Linked DNA regions of Homo sapiens: all the other regions are linked to region 2. Evidence: promoter capture Hi-C in 16 types of primary human blood cells and fetal thymus (Javierre and others, 2016). All regions are on one chromosome and are shown on one strand. The core of a region is centred on a gene start or on the middle of the fragment in contact, and the rest is flanking DNA. Distances in the headings are between cores, read along the strand shown.

What was found. Contacts are between HindIII fragments. The CHiCAGO score rates a contact against its expected background, and 5 or more counts as called.
Region 1: a contact is called between a fragment that was not itself captured here and the fragment with the promoter of ZNF667 in region 2, in 1 of 17 cell types (naive CD4 T cells). The highest score is 5.3, in naive CD4 T cells.
Region 3: a fragment that was not itself captured here is called in contact with the fragment with the promoter of ZNF667 in region 2 in 1 of 17 cell types (non-activated CD4 T cells); the score reaches 5.5 in non-activated CD4 T cells.
Region 4: the fragment with the promoter of NLRP8 here is called in contact with the fragment with the promoter of ZNF667 in region 2 in 6 of 17 cell types (naive CD8 T cells, monocytes, M0 macrophages and 3 more); the score reaches 8.9 in naive CD8 T cells.
Region 5: a contact is called between a fragment that was not itself captured here and the fragment with the promoter of ZNF667 in region 2, in 4 of 17 cell types (total CD8 T cells, activated CD4 T cells, naive CD4 T cells and 1 more). The highest score is 5.9, in total CD8 T cells.

What each region holds. Positions count from the first base shown.
Region 1 is chr19:57,137,064-57,139,763 of GRCh38, forward strand. ZIM3 (zinc finger imprinted 3) reads right to left here. Exons shown (of 5, transcript NM_052882.1): 3 at 1,409-1,535. Among named protein-coding and RNA genes, the nearest start is that of ZIM3, 6.8 kb to the right of the region's middle. The HindIII fragment of the contact is 498 bases long and covers 1,121-1,618 here.
Region 2 is chr19:56,476,034-56,478,733 of GRCh38, forward strand. It overlaps ZNF667 (zinc finger protein 667), which reads right to left and starts at 1,312. Exons shown (of 7, transcript NM_001321356.2): 1 at 1,239-1,312. It overlaps ZNF667-AS1 (ZNF667 antisense RNA 1), which reads left to right and starts at 1,841. Exons shown (of 2, transcript NR_036521.1): 1 at 1,841-2,348. The HindIII fragment of the contact is 7,484 bases long and covers 1-2,700 here.
Region 3 is chr19:57,098,217-57,100,916 of GRCh38, forward strand. No RefSeq gene overlaps it. Among named protein-coding and RNA genes, the nearest start is that of USP29, 20 kb to the right of the region's middle. The HindIII fragment of the contact is 7,444 bases long and covers 1-2,700 here.
Region 4 is chr19:55,946,438-55,949,137 of GRCh38, forward strand. NLRP8 (NLR family pyrin domain containing 8) reads left to right here and starts at 1,395. Exons shown (of 10, transcript NM_001433706.1): 1 at 1,395-1,832. The coding sequence starts at 1,466. The HindIII fragment of the contact is 8,931 bases long and covers 1-2,700 here.
Region 5 is chr19:57,053,800-57,056,499 of GRCh38, forward strand. No RefSeq gene overlaps it. Among named protein-coding and RNA genes, the nearest start is that of USP29, 65 kb to the right of the region's middle. The HindIII fragment of the contact is 194 bases long and covers 1,156-1,349 here.

The sequences.
Region 1 (2,700 bases), core at 120-2,619, 660 kb after region 2:
GTGTGAATATTTGTGTGTGAGTGTGAGCATTTATATGTCAGTGTGTGGGTATGTGCCATTGGTTGGGGGGAGTTGTGTGGATGGATGGTTTGAGGGAATGCACCTGAGCAGTCGAACTAAACAAAGAATGCTTTTTCTGGGCTGGGTGTGGCGGCTCATGCCTGTAATCCCAGCACTTTGGGAGGCCGAGATAGGAGAATTGCTAGAGCACAGGAATTTGAGACCAACATGTTACATGTAACATGAAGATAGCAAGACCCAGTCTCTACAAAACCAAAGCCACGTGTGGTGGTGCACGTCTGTGGTCCCAGCTATTCAGGAGGCTGAGGTGGGAGGATGGCTTGAGCCCAGGTCAATGTTGCAGTGACGCCAGGCGTGGTGGTTCATGCCTGTAATACCAGAACTTTGGGAGGCTGAGGCGGGCCGGTTATCTGAGGTCAGGAGTTCAAGACTAGCCTCACCAACATGGAGAAACCCCATCTGTGCAAAAAATACAAAAATTAGCCAGGCATGGTGGTGCACGTCTGTAATCCCAGCTACTCGGGAGGCTAAGGCAGGAAAATCACTGGAACCTGGGAGGCGGAGGTTGCAGTGAGCCGAGATCACACCACTGCACTCCAGCCTGGGTGACAGAGCGAGACTGTCTCCAAAAAAAAAAAATACTACAGTGAGCTATGATTGCACCACTGCACTCCAGCCTCGGTGACACAGCCAGACCCTGTTAGGAGAAAGGAGATAAAGAAAGAGAGAGGAATGGAGAGAGGGAGGGAGGGAGAAAGGAAGGAAGGAAGGAAGGAAGGAAGGAAAGAAGGAAGGAAGGAAGGAAAGAAGGAAGGAAAGAAGGAAGGAAGGAAGGAAAGAAGGAAGGAAGGAAGGAAGGAAGGAAAGAAGGAAGGAAGGAAGGAAAGAAGGAAGGAAAGAAGGAAGGAAGGAAGGAAAGAAGGAAGGAAGGAAGGAAAGAAGGAAGGAAAGAAGGAAGGAAGGAAGGAAAGAAGGAAGGAAGGAAGGAAGGAAAGAAGGGAGGTAGGAAGGGAGGAAGGGAAGGAGGCAGGGAGGGAGGGAGGGAGGGAGGGAGGGAAGGAAGGGAAAGAAAGAAATGCTTTTTCTTCTTGGAGGATAAAGCTTTTCCAAAAATCAAGACCAGGAGTAGGGTGAAGGGCAGGGCACCCAGCCCACAAAACTTACAGAGGCCCTCACTCATTCTCCCGGCACTTGCCGACCCTGAGAATGGGGGCTCCTTCAATACAGCACTTGGTACACTTCACTTGCCTCACCCTAGTCCCGGCTCTACAAAAACATATGCGAAGTGAGGAGCACCTCTGTGCCAACCCTATTTGGCCAGCCATGGGGTGTCTGTGTGTTTCACGCCTTAGGTTTTGAGTCCCCCTGCCCGGGAAGCCGTCCTTACCCACAGAGACAAGGTTGCTGTAATTCTCCAGCATCACATCCCTGTACAAGTTTCTCTGTTCGGGATTCAGCCGCTGCCACTCCCCCTGGGTGAAGTTCACAGTGACATCCTCGAAGGTCACTCTTCCCTGTAACAACAGATTCCCGATCAGTATAAAAATGCCATTGAATCCTGCGGCTGAGGATACAGAAACTTGTTTCTGCTGAACCAAGCTTTAATCATGTCCATAATTCACTCTACTCTGGATGAAAATAAATTGTGCCCAGAGGATCTTGCCAATGAGCCATAAACCTTAGACCTACTCATGACACTGCCATCTTTCTCCACCCTCTAGTCCCACCAATTTTACTTCCTGAATCTCAAACCCAGCCATTAGTTTCCATCTTCTCCACCATTCATAAATCCACCTTGTCATCTTTTACTTAGAGTAAGGCAGAGGCCGAGTATGGTGGCTCACACCTATCATCCCAACATTTTGGGAGGCCGAGGCAGGAGGATTGCTTGAGGCCAGGAGTTTGAGGCTAGCTGGGGAACATAGCAAAACCCCTATCTCAAAGAACATTTTATTATTTTGGCCGGGCACGGTGGCTCACACCTGTAATCCCTGCACTTTGGGAGGCCGAGGCGGGTGGATCACCTGAGGTCAGGAGTTCGAGACCAGTCTGGCCAACATGAAGAAACCCCATCTCTACTAAAAATACAAAAAATTAGCCAGGCATGGTGGCAGGCGCCTGTAATCCCAGCTACTCAGGAGGCTGAGGCAGGAGAATCACTTGAACCCAGGAGGTGGAGGCTGCAGTGAGCCAAGATTGCGCCACTGCACTCCAGCCAGGGCAACAAGAGCAAAACTCTGTCTCAAGAAAAAAAAGAAAAAGAAAAAGAAAAGAAAAGAAAATGTTATTATATTTTTTTTCTATTTTCCATTTTTCTTTAAGACATCCTGCCTCTATTAGAAATTCTTTTTTAAATAGAGGCCTGGCATGGTGGCTCACACCTATAATCCCAGCACTTCAGGAGGCTGAGACAGGTGGATCACCCGGGGTCAGGAGTTCGAGACCAGCCTCGTCAACATGGTGAAACCCCATCTCTACTAAAAATACAAAAATTAGCCAGGTGTCGTGGTGCGCGCCTGTAATCCCAGCTACTCAGGAGGCTGAGGCAGGAGAATCGCTTGAACCCTGGGAGGTGGAGGTTGCAGTGAGCTGAGATCACACCACTGCACTCCAGCCTGGGTGACAGTGAGACTCCATCTCAAATAAATAAATACATAAATAAGTAGAATAAGCCAATAG
Region 2 (2,700 bases), core at 62-2,561:
GCACTTCCTTGTGCCAAGTTCTACTTATGCTCACCATAAACCTGAGGTTGGTTCTGTTATTACTACTGTTTTACAAGTGAACCGAGGAGTGGTGGACTTAAGTAAGCTCTCTCAGTCACACAGCCAGCCAGTGGTGAAACCAGGAGTCAACACCAGACAGCGGGGCGCCACAGTCCATGCTCTTATTTTTCCAAGCTACCTTGGTAGGAAGGGGACACAACCATACTTAGCGTCAGTGGAGGGCTCTGTCCTCCACTCAAATGTACACATGCAGAAAACTGACGACGCAGGTGGTTGGCGGGGGCAGCGCACCACTGCTCAACTGGAGATGGTCAGATGCCCTGGTATGTGGACAAAGATAGCCCAGTCCGAAGCTCAGAGATGCAAAGTCCTCCAGTATTCACCACTACCTCTGCCTCTGTATAGGGTCAAAGAAAAACGACCACCAGCACCATAACCAACACCTAAACACGGTGATTAGTATGTGACAAGCTCTGTGCAGGGTGTTTCAGCTACGTCATCCCATTTAATCTTCCCAATAACACCCAGGCAGGTGCTATTAATATGCTATTTTACCAAGGAGGAAAGTCATGCACAATTAAACAGTTCCACAGATTTCCAGGGCAGCCCATCACATCTTAGAGCTGCTAAGAATTCTTCCCCTGTGGGCCTCCATTTCCATGGTTACAGTGAGATATACACCAGAAAGGCACAGTCACACACTCATAACCGCAAAGCCACTGACGCTAAGTGGCAGACAGACGCCCAGGCAAGTCACACAGTAACCCAAGGCTACAATAAACGCCCACATCAGCCTGACACTGACACACGCACACACTCCAGAAACACAAATCTTCACAGTCAGCGTCACACACCCACTCCCGGCTTCCCAATGGCTCCATTGTTTCCTTCGCGTGGGTCACGCAGCGATACACATCCGCGGTCCCGACATAGCTCCCTCACACACAGGCACACACGGCTCGCCTCACACGCGGCGCCAACTTCACACTTGGGCGCACAAGCCCCGAGAACCACAGCAGCGAAGGGCGCAAACCCCACGCCGTGGCGGGCCGAGAACCCACGCAGGCGCGAGCCCACCGCCCACGCAAGCACCCGCGCAGACGCCCACGCCATCGTGGATGCGCAAACCCACGCGCGCCTTGGCAGGAACGTCCACGCAGTGGCGGGCGCGCCGCCCACGCCCTCAGACACACCCACACTCTCGCCAGCCCCCTTACCTCGGTCTTCCCGGGCTCAGACCCCGGCGGCGACCACCGAGACAGCCGAGCAGGGACTCAGCGCCTGCGCACTCCCCTCCGGGACCCCGGGACCGCGCGCTGCACCCCCCTTCACACACGCACCACGCATGCGGGCGCGTGGCCCCGCCCCCAAACAAGGCCACGCGGCGTGCGCTCACCCGCCTCTCGGGGACAGTACCACCAGCCCCGGCCTGAGGCCCCGACCCCTCAGCGCCACACGCACAAGCGCGTTCGCACGATTGGTGCAGGCGGACGCGCGAGGTCCCGCGCCTGCGCACACCCCCGAGGCTGGCACGCACACCGGTCTCCTAGGGGACTGGCGCCTGGCCCTGCTTTTCATCCTCTCAGGAGATCACGTGTGGACACTGAGGCCCTTCCTCGAGCTCTTTAACCAAACCCAACCTCCCCAATTCGCCGCCTTCCCCGCTCCCACAACCACACGTTCCCGTGTGAGGGCTTATTGCCTCCAGCCAGCCAGCGTCCTTCGCCCCCACATTCACGAGGTTTGGAGCCGGCCTCACCCGCGGAGGCGGACACCGCCCACCCGCGCGTGCGCACTACGCAGTCATCCTGCGACCTCCAGAATCCACCGGGGTGCAGCGAGGCTGTGGAAAGTCCCACCCAGAACGTGAGGTGAAGAAGGCTTGGGCTGCGCTGGTTCTGCTCTGTCCGGGTCGGAGATGAACTGACCCGGGAGAGCAGCGGAGGGATGTTTCTTTTGGCCAACAGTGGGGACTCACCTGCACGTTTTGCGAAGAGGCCCACAGTCCTTTGCGTGGCGCTCGGACTACATTTCCCAACGGCCCCTGCACGCCCTGGGGGCTGTTCCATGCGGTGTTGCGCCTGCGTAGCCGGCGGGCTGGCAGTGAGACTGACTGCGTCGGGGTTGAGACTGGGTGGATGAGGCTCACCCCGGCGGGGAGAAGGGACGAGGAGGGGCGGACAGCGGAAGGTCCGGGAGTGTCCGCCATAAAGTCGTTTGAGGTGACCGTTGCGTAATTGTGAGTCTGTGAGAGAAGATGTGAAGTATGGCCTCGTCCCGGTCATCTGGGCGTGCGGGTCCCGGGTTTTGATCGCGCGTTTGTGTAGGTGAGACCCACATTGTGTTACCCTGAACATGTGTGAGGACGAACCTTTGTGTTTTCTTATACGTGTGTCTCTGAGGCGATTTTTGTGGTTTTGTACGTGGCGGGGGGCACTGATTTTGAATATGTGTGTATGTTCTGGACATTTGTTTAGCTTCTGCATCCACTTCTGCGGAAGGGCAGAGTTGAGTAGGTGGGAACAGGTACTGTGTGGCCCCACAAAGCCTGAACTATTTACTGTTGACTCTAGAGCCCAGTTTTTGCGGTGTGTACGTCTCTGTGGGGAACCACACATTTTGAATATGTATACTTGTGTATATTTACGTCTATTCTATGACTGCTTTTGCACAATGGCA
Region 3 (2,700 bases), core at 77-2,576, 620 kb after region 2:
AGAGAATCCACCTGTCTCCCTTAGCTCTGCACTGGGGTTGCCCAATTTAATAAATAAAAATACAAATTGCCTGGTTAAATATGGATTTCAGATAAACAATAAAAAAGAATCAACTTTTATTTTAGAATCGACTTAGATTTGGCGAAAAGTTGCAAAGAGAATAGAAAGTTTTCCTTGTTCCTGCACCCAGCTTCCCCTGTTAGTAGCGTCTTACACGAGTATGATTTATCTCAATATTAGTGAACTGGCCAGGCACGGTGGCTAACACCTGTAATACCAGCACTTTTGGAGGCTGAGGCAGGTGGATCACTTGAGGTCAGGAGTTCGAGACCAGCCTGGCCAACATGGTGAAACCCCATCTCTACTAAAAAATACAAAAATTAGCCAGGCGTGGTGGTGAGCACCTGTAGTCACAGCTACTCAGGAGACTGAGGCATGATAATTGCTTGAACCCAAGAGGCAGAGGTTGCAGTGAGCCAAGATTTTGCCACTGCACTCCAGACTCGGCAACGAGTGAGACCCTGACTCTAAAAAACCGTAAAAATAAAAATAAATAAATAATTGCCAAGTGTGGTGGCTCATGCCTATCTATAATCCCAGCATTTTGGGAGGCAGAGGTGAGCAGATCACTTGAGCCCAGGAGTTCAAGACCAGCCTGGGCATCATGGCAAAAACCCTTCTCTACAAAAAATACAAAAATTAGCTGGGTGTGGTGGTGCAGGCCTGTAGTCCCAGCTACTCGGGAGGCTGAGGCAGGAGGATTGCTCAAGCTGGGGAGGCTGCAGTGAGCCAAGACAGCGCCACTGTACTCCAGCCTGAGCCACAGAGTGAGACCCTGTCTCAATAGAAAAACAAATACATAATAAATACATAAAACGCCCATGGCAGGGACACACACGCTGGTTTGGGTTGGAGCCAGCCCGTAAACCCAAATTTGGGGGCCCGGGCTCTCGGCTGCTGCAGCACTGACTACCGTTAAGGTACAATAAAACTGACACATGGGCAGTGAGGGGAATTTGCTCTCCTGCCTCCCTCCCTAAGTTCATCTGCTGAGAAAAATGCTTTGAGATAAACCTGGAGCCACAGCTCTCTGCACAGTCAGATCGCAGGAACGCGGCCTAGCTGCTTCAGCCACGTTCTCGCGGCGCCACCTGGTGGCCATGGACCGCCATCGCCGCTGGACGTCAGGGCCGCCAGGCCCAGCGAGATGTCACCTCCTCTGAGGAGCCTTCCAGGATCGCACCCGGCACGCGCTCCACGCCTCGTTGTCTGTTCTTCGGAGCACCGACCATGATCACAAATCAGCTCGCTCGCTGTGTTTCCTGCCGGGTCGCTACCGCCATGATCCGCACGTAGTGGTCAAGGCTGAGGTTGTATGAATGTGGACGTTATAACCCTGGCTCCCTCTCCCTCCCTATGCTGGGCTCCCCTCGATCCCCAGGCGGTGGGGTGCCCCTGGTTTTTCCTTTTTAAAATTATAAGTCTGGCCGGACGCGGTGGCTCAGGACCGTAATCCCAGCACTTTGGGAAGTCGAGGGAGGGTGTATCACTTGAGGCCAGGAGTTCAAGACCAGCCTGGCCAACATGGTGAAACACCATCTCTACTAAAAATACAAAAATTTGCCGGGCATGGTGGTGTGCGCCTGTAACCCCAGCTACTTGGGAGGCTGAGGCAGGAGAATCGCTTGAACCTGGGAAGCAGAGGTTGCAGTGAGCCGAGATCTCCAGCCTGGGTGGCAGAGTGAGCCTTCGTCTCAAAAAATAAAAAATAAAAAAAAGGTTAAATCAATTTAAATGTCAATGTCCACAGGAGCTACAGATGGTACCAATAGCTCCCAGCTGGGGCTCGTGTATCATTGGTCAGGGCTTCATCAGGATTGGCTACTGCCCCACCCTTGTTAAACATTTTTAATATCTTCCTTGTCTACCAGGGTCAGGCACCTCAGGTAGATGAATGAAGGATGGGGGGGATGGGGGAGGGAGATGGAAGAGGGAAGGGAAGCAGAGGGAGGAGGAGTGAGTGGGCAGCCCTGATCGGAGGTCCCTCCCCATCCCATCTAAAGGGGCTCCCTGGCCGGGCGCAGTGGCTCACACCTGCCATCCCAGCACTTTGGGAGGCTGAGGCGGGTGGATCACCTGAGGTCAGGAGTTCAAGACCATCCTGGCCAACATGGTGAAACCCCGTCTCTACTAAAAATACAAAAAGTAGCCGGGTGTAGTGGTTCATGCCTGTAATCCCAGCTACTCTGGAGGCTGAGGCTGGAGAGTCGCTTGAACCTGGGAGGCGGAGGTTGCGGTGAGCCAAGATCGCCCCACTGCACTCCAGCCTGGGCGACAGAGCGAGATTCCGTCTCAAAAAAATAAAAAATTAATAAAATAAAAATAAATAAATAAATAAATAAAGGGGCTCCCTGCTCTTCTGCTCCAACCTGTGGCTGCCGCATAGGAACATGGGTCACAAAACCCAGAAATCTGGATTCCTTTAAGTGAAATCTTCCAAATTTTATGTTTAAGAAGGTCATGTATTTATTCCTTCCTAAAGACCATGCTGACCAAATCAAATGAGTCTGTGGATAAGTGTGTCCAGGCTTCAGACTACTCCCTTTTGGAGCCTGTGGTGTAAAGGGAACAGCTTAAAGTCCCTCGCCCCAGTCAACAGGGGAATTTAATGTCTTGGGTTCCCTGGCAGAACTTTTCTGT
Region 4 (2,700 bases), core at 145-2,644, 530 kb before region 2:
TGGGAAACAGAGTGAGACTCTGTCTCTAAGTAAATAAATAAATAATAAATAAATAAACTATTATTGGAAGTTGGGGCAGGGGGGACAAAAATACACCCATGATCCTTTTTATTTTATTTCTTTTTTACATTTCTTTTAGATACAGGGGTACATGTGCAGGTTTGTTATATAGGCAAACGTGTTATGGGGGTGGGTTTGTTGTACAGGTTATCTCATCACCCAGGTATTAATCCCAGTACCCATTAGTTATTTTTCCTGATCTTCTCCCTCCTCCCACCCTCCAGCCTCTAGCAGACTCCAGTGTGTGGTGTTCCCTCTATGTGTCCATGTGTTCTCATCGTTTAGCTACCACTTATAAATGAGCACATGTGGTATTTGGTTTCCTGTTCCTGTGTTAGTTTGCTAAGGAATAATGGTCTCTGGCTCCATCTATGTTCCTGCAAAGGTCATGATCTCATTCTTTTTTATGGCTGCATAGTATTCCATGGTGTTTATGTACCACATTTTTTTATCCGGTCTATCACTGATGGGCATTTAGGTTGATTCCATGACTTTGCTATTGTGAGTAGTGCTGCAATGAACATACACAGGAATGTGTCTTTATAATAGAATGATTTATATTCCTTTGGATATATATCCAGTAATGGGATTGCTGAGTTGAATGGTAGTTCTCTTTTTAGGTCTTTGAGGAGTTGCCCCACTGTCATCCAGAGTAGTTGAACTAATTTACACTCCCACACACAGAGTATAAGTGTTCCTTTTTCTCTGCGACTTCACCAGCATCTGTTATTGCTTGACTTTTTAATAATCACCATTCTGACTGGTGTGAGATGACATCTCGTTGTGGTTTTGATTTGCATCTCTCTAATACATGATCCATTTTTTAAGAATACAGCATCTGTTATTGCTTGACTTTTTAATAATCACCATTCTGACTGGTGTGAGATGACATCTCGTTGTGGTTTTGATTTGCATCTCTCTAATACATGATCCATTTTTTTAAGAATAAAAACTTTGTTGAATTTGAGATCACTTTTAATCTAATGGAGCCTTCTAACCAACCATATATTTTCTAGATTTTAGCTTCACTGAATTATTTTACCTGCTTCTAATTTTTCTTTTCGCTAAACCTTTTGTGAAGGCTTTGATATTTTGCTTGCCTCTTCCCCAAAAGAAGTCATGGAGAATAGAAACTACAAACAATCCATTAGTCTAATGGACTAATCCCAAACATTCCATGCATCTTCAGTTTTTCCATAGGGCAGAGAATCTTTGAGGAAAGGAGGTAAAGGGAGTACCCGGCACGCAGAATACCTGCCAAGTAAGCATTACACGAATCTGTTTTCTTGGGTAGTGTTTTCATCTTCTTGTTTTATTGTTTTATGTCTCTGCAGGTCTCGTGTTTCTCTCTTCCAATCGGTTGTCTTTATCGTGGACACTGAGGTGTTCTCTGCCTTGACTAAAGATGAGTGACGTGAATCCACCCTCTGACACCCCCATTCCCTTTTCATCCTCCTCCACTCACAGTTCTCATATTCCGCCCTGGACATTCTCTTGCTACCCCGGCTCCCCATGTGAAAATGGGGTCATGCTGTACATGAGAAACGTGAGCCATGAGGAGCTACAACGGTTCAAGCAGCTCTTACTGACTGAGCTCAGTACTGGCACCATGCCCATCACCTGGGACCAGGTCGAGACAGCCAGCTGGGCAGAGGTGGTTCATCTCTTGATAGAGCGTTTCCCTGGACGACGCGCTTGGGATGTGACTTCGAACATCTTTGCCATTATGAACTGTGATAAAATGTGTGTTGTAGTCCGCAGAGAGATAAATGGTGAGTGTTGATCTGGTGGATAAAGTGGGGGTGGGCTTGGCTGCTGGGCAGCTAAACTACTCTAGTCACCACCCCTATCACTTATTGGCCTTCTGAGCAAGAAAGCAAACAGTGGAGGAAGATAATGGATCTAACCCAAAGGCAAAGACTGTCATACGGGCATTTTTTTAATTTTATTTTTCTGAGATGGGGTTTCGCTCTTCTTGCCCAGGCTGAAGTGCAATGGCACAATCTCGGCTCACTGCAAACCCCGCCTCCCAGGTACAGGTGATTCTCCTGCCTCAGCCTCCTGAGTAGCTGGGATTACAGGCACCCACCACCATGCCTGGGTAATTTTTTTTTATTTTTAGTAGAGACGGGGTTTCACCATGTTGGCCAGGCTGGTCTCGAACTACTGACCTCAGGTAATCCGCCTGCCTTGGCCCCCCAAAGTGCTGGGATTGCAGGTGTGAGCCACTGTGCCCAGCCCATATGGGCCTATTTTTTAAAAACTTAACTGAATACTGCTTATATGAGGTGAACGTTAAATGAAGTCATAGAGAAGTAGGAAGTAAAATAGTGGAAAAGCATATGCTATGGAAACAGCAGAAGACAGCTGGTATAGCTATGGTGATGTCAGGAGTGCTATATTTAAAGCAAGAAGGTTAAACACTTTAAAAGGCCATTTCGCAGCAACAAAGGGTGAATCCCACTGGAGGATATTGTAATCCAAAACCTCATCTTCAATATGAATAAAGCAGAGCTGGACTACAGTCATCCCCTTATCCAAGGTTTTGCTTTCTGAAGTTTGGGTTGATCATGGCCAAAAATAGATGAGTACAGTACACTGAGATATTCTGAGACAGAGAGAGACCACATTTACATACCG
Region 5 (2,700 bases), core at 3-2,502, 580 kb after region 2:
AAACAAAGGAGAGCTTTGCTCAGATCATTGGCAGGCGATGGCATCTAACCCAGGGTTTCCAGTCTCAGCACTGTGGACATTTTGGGCTGAATAATTGTTTGGTGGGTGGGCAGGAGGGCTGTCTTCTGCACTGTAAGCTGATAAGCAGCACCCCTGGTCTCTACCCCCTGGATGGCAGGAGCAAGGCCCTCTTCCCCACGTGTGACAACTAAAGACATCTCCAGACACTTCCAGATGTCCCCAAGTAGACAAAGCCACCCCTGTTTGAGAACCACTGGTTTAGGCACACTTGTGCATGTTGTTGTTGTTGCTGTTGCTGTTTTTTATCATTGTTCTTTCTTTTACTCTGTCTTCCACTTAAGGGAGGTGACGCTGGCTTTCCATGCATATTCATGATATCAAAACTTTAAAATGATTCTCACTCGGGTGTTTAAAGTTAATGTTATAGGCCAAGTGCAGTGGCTCATGCCTGTAATCCCAGCACTTCGGGAGGCCGAGGCAGGCGGATCATTTGAGGTCAAGACCAGCCTGGCCAACATGGTGAAACCCTGTCTCTACCAAAAATACAAAAATTAGGTGGGCCTGGTGGCACACACTTGTAGTTCCAGCTACTCAGGAGACTGAGGCAGGAGAATCACCTGAACCCGAGAGGCGGAGGTTGCAGTGAGCTGAGATCACACCACTGCACTCCAACCTGGGCAATAGACTAAGACTTTGTCTCAAATAAATAAACAAATAAATAAAAATAAAAGTTTATGTTATAGAACAACGGTAAATAGCACCTCATGGCCTAGTTCTTAACACAGATGGGGCAAAATTTCTGAAAAGTGAACAGACAGGTAACATCTATCCCACTGATCACTTCTCCCATTAAATGTCAAGTAAACTTTCTAAATTGCAAATCTGACCATGTCACTCTGCTATTCTAAACCCTGCTGCCCTCTGGAAAAAGTTTTTTTTTAAGCATACTTAATTCTTATTCTGAAGCACATTTAAAAGAAAGAGAGAATTGAAAATGAAAAATTTTGCTTAATTCTCAGTATACTCAGAGCTGCAAAAATCTACTGGTTTCTTGGGAAGAGCATAAAATATTCATAAAGCCTATAATTATGTCTTTGGTCCCTTTATCTAAGAGCTTCCTTCCGTGGTAAGCAAAGCTTACAGGCATTTTCCCACCTAGAATCGTTTTATTGTAAGCACCCATCTTTGAATTACGAGTGATAAATATGACATCTCAGAAATCACCAGTAATATATTTGAGGTCAACCACCTAAAGGAGCCTTCACCTAGAAATTCCCAAACTAACAGCTCTTTATGACGTATAGAGCCTATCTATAATTTCCCATTCAAGCTTGTGTTCGGATTGGGCCAAATATCTGCACCACTTGTAGCTAGATGTGGCCATGCAACCAAGGTCTGGCCAATAGGATGAAAGCACATGTATGGAGTGTGGACTAAGAGAAGCCTTAAAGGGAATATTGGGGGTGGAATCTTTCTTTGCCTCACCTCTCTTCCTCTTAGCTAGAAGGCAGAAATGCTGCCTGAATTCAGCCAGCTCTCTAGACAGTGAGGTAGAAGCCACCTGGTGAAGAATTCAGAATAACAAGACAGAAGGAGCCTAGGTCCTGTGTTCATTAGCTCCAGCTGCCATAACAAAATCACACAGACTGAGTGGCTTAAACAACAAAAATGTATTTTCTTACAGTTCTGGAGGCTGCAAGTCCAAAATCATGGTGCTGGCAAATTCTGTTCCTGGTGAGGACTCTCTTCCTGGCTTGCAGATGGCCACCTTCTTGCTGTGTCCTCACATGGCAGAGGTGGTGGGGTAGGGGAAGAGACCTGAACTGGTGTCCCTTTTCTTATGAAGATACCGGTTATATTGACTTAAAAGCCCACCCTTATGAAGCTTATATAATCTTAATTACCTCTCTAAAAGCACTGTCTCCAAATACAGTCACATTGGGGGTTAGAGCTTCAATGTAAATTTTGGTCAAGGAGCACCATTGAGGTCATAGCAGCCTCTAACAGCATAGAACCCTGAATTAGACTAAGATTTCTGCTACACAAGAGCAAGGGATGATTAAATCCCATTCAGTAATTAGGATCACCTCTCACCGACTCACATTCACACACACTCTAAGACACACAACTCCCAGCCACATGCCGAGCATGGTAACCCCATTTCCTACTTTAACCTTTGGGGGAGCCTGGGAGGTGGGAATCATTCTTATCCCCTGTCCAAAGTGGAGAAATGGAGGTCCTGAAAGAGCAACTCTCTTGGCAGGGTTGGAGAGTGAGTCTGTGCTGTCAAATGCCTCATGTGTGCATTTCTGACAAGATACAGAGTAATCTGAGGGTGGAGGAGGCGTGAAGGTGAATGGCAACCTAGACAAAGAACTGGGAAGAGATCGACGGAAATCTGTTCCTAAAAGCCCCATGCGTATGTTTATTGCAGCACTATTCACAACAGCAAAGACATGGAATCCATGTAAATGCCCATCAATGGTAGACTAGATAAAGAAAATGTGGTACCTATATAACATGGAATACTACACAGCCACAAAAAAGAAGGAAAACATGTCCTTTGCTGTAACATGAAGGGAGCTGGAGGCCATTATCCTTAGCAAATTAATGTAGGAACAGAAAGTCAAATACTGCAGGTTCTCACTTATTAGGGGGAGCTAAACAACAAGAACCCAT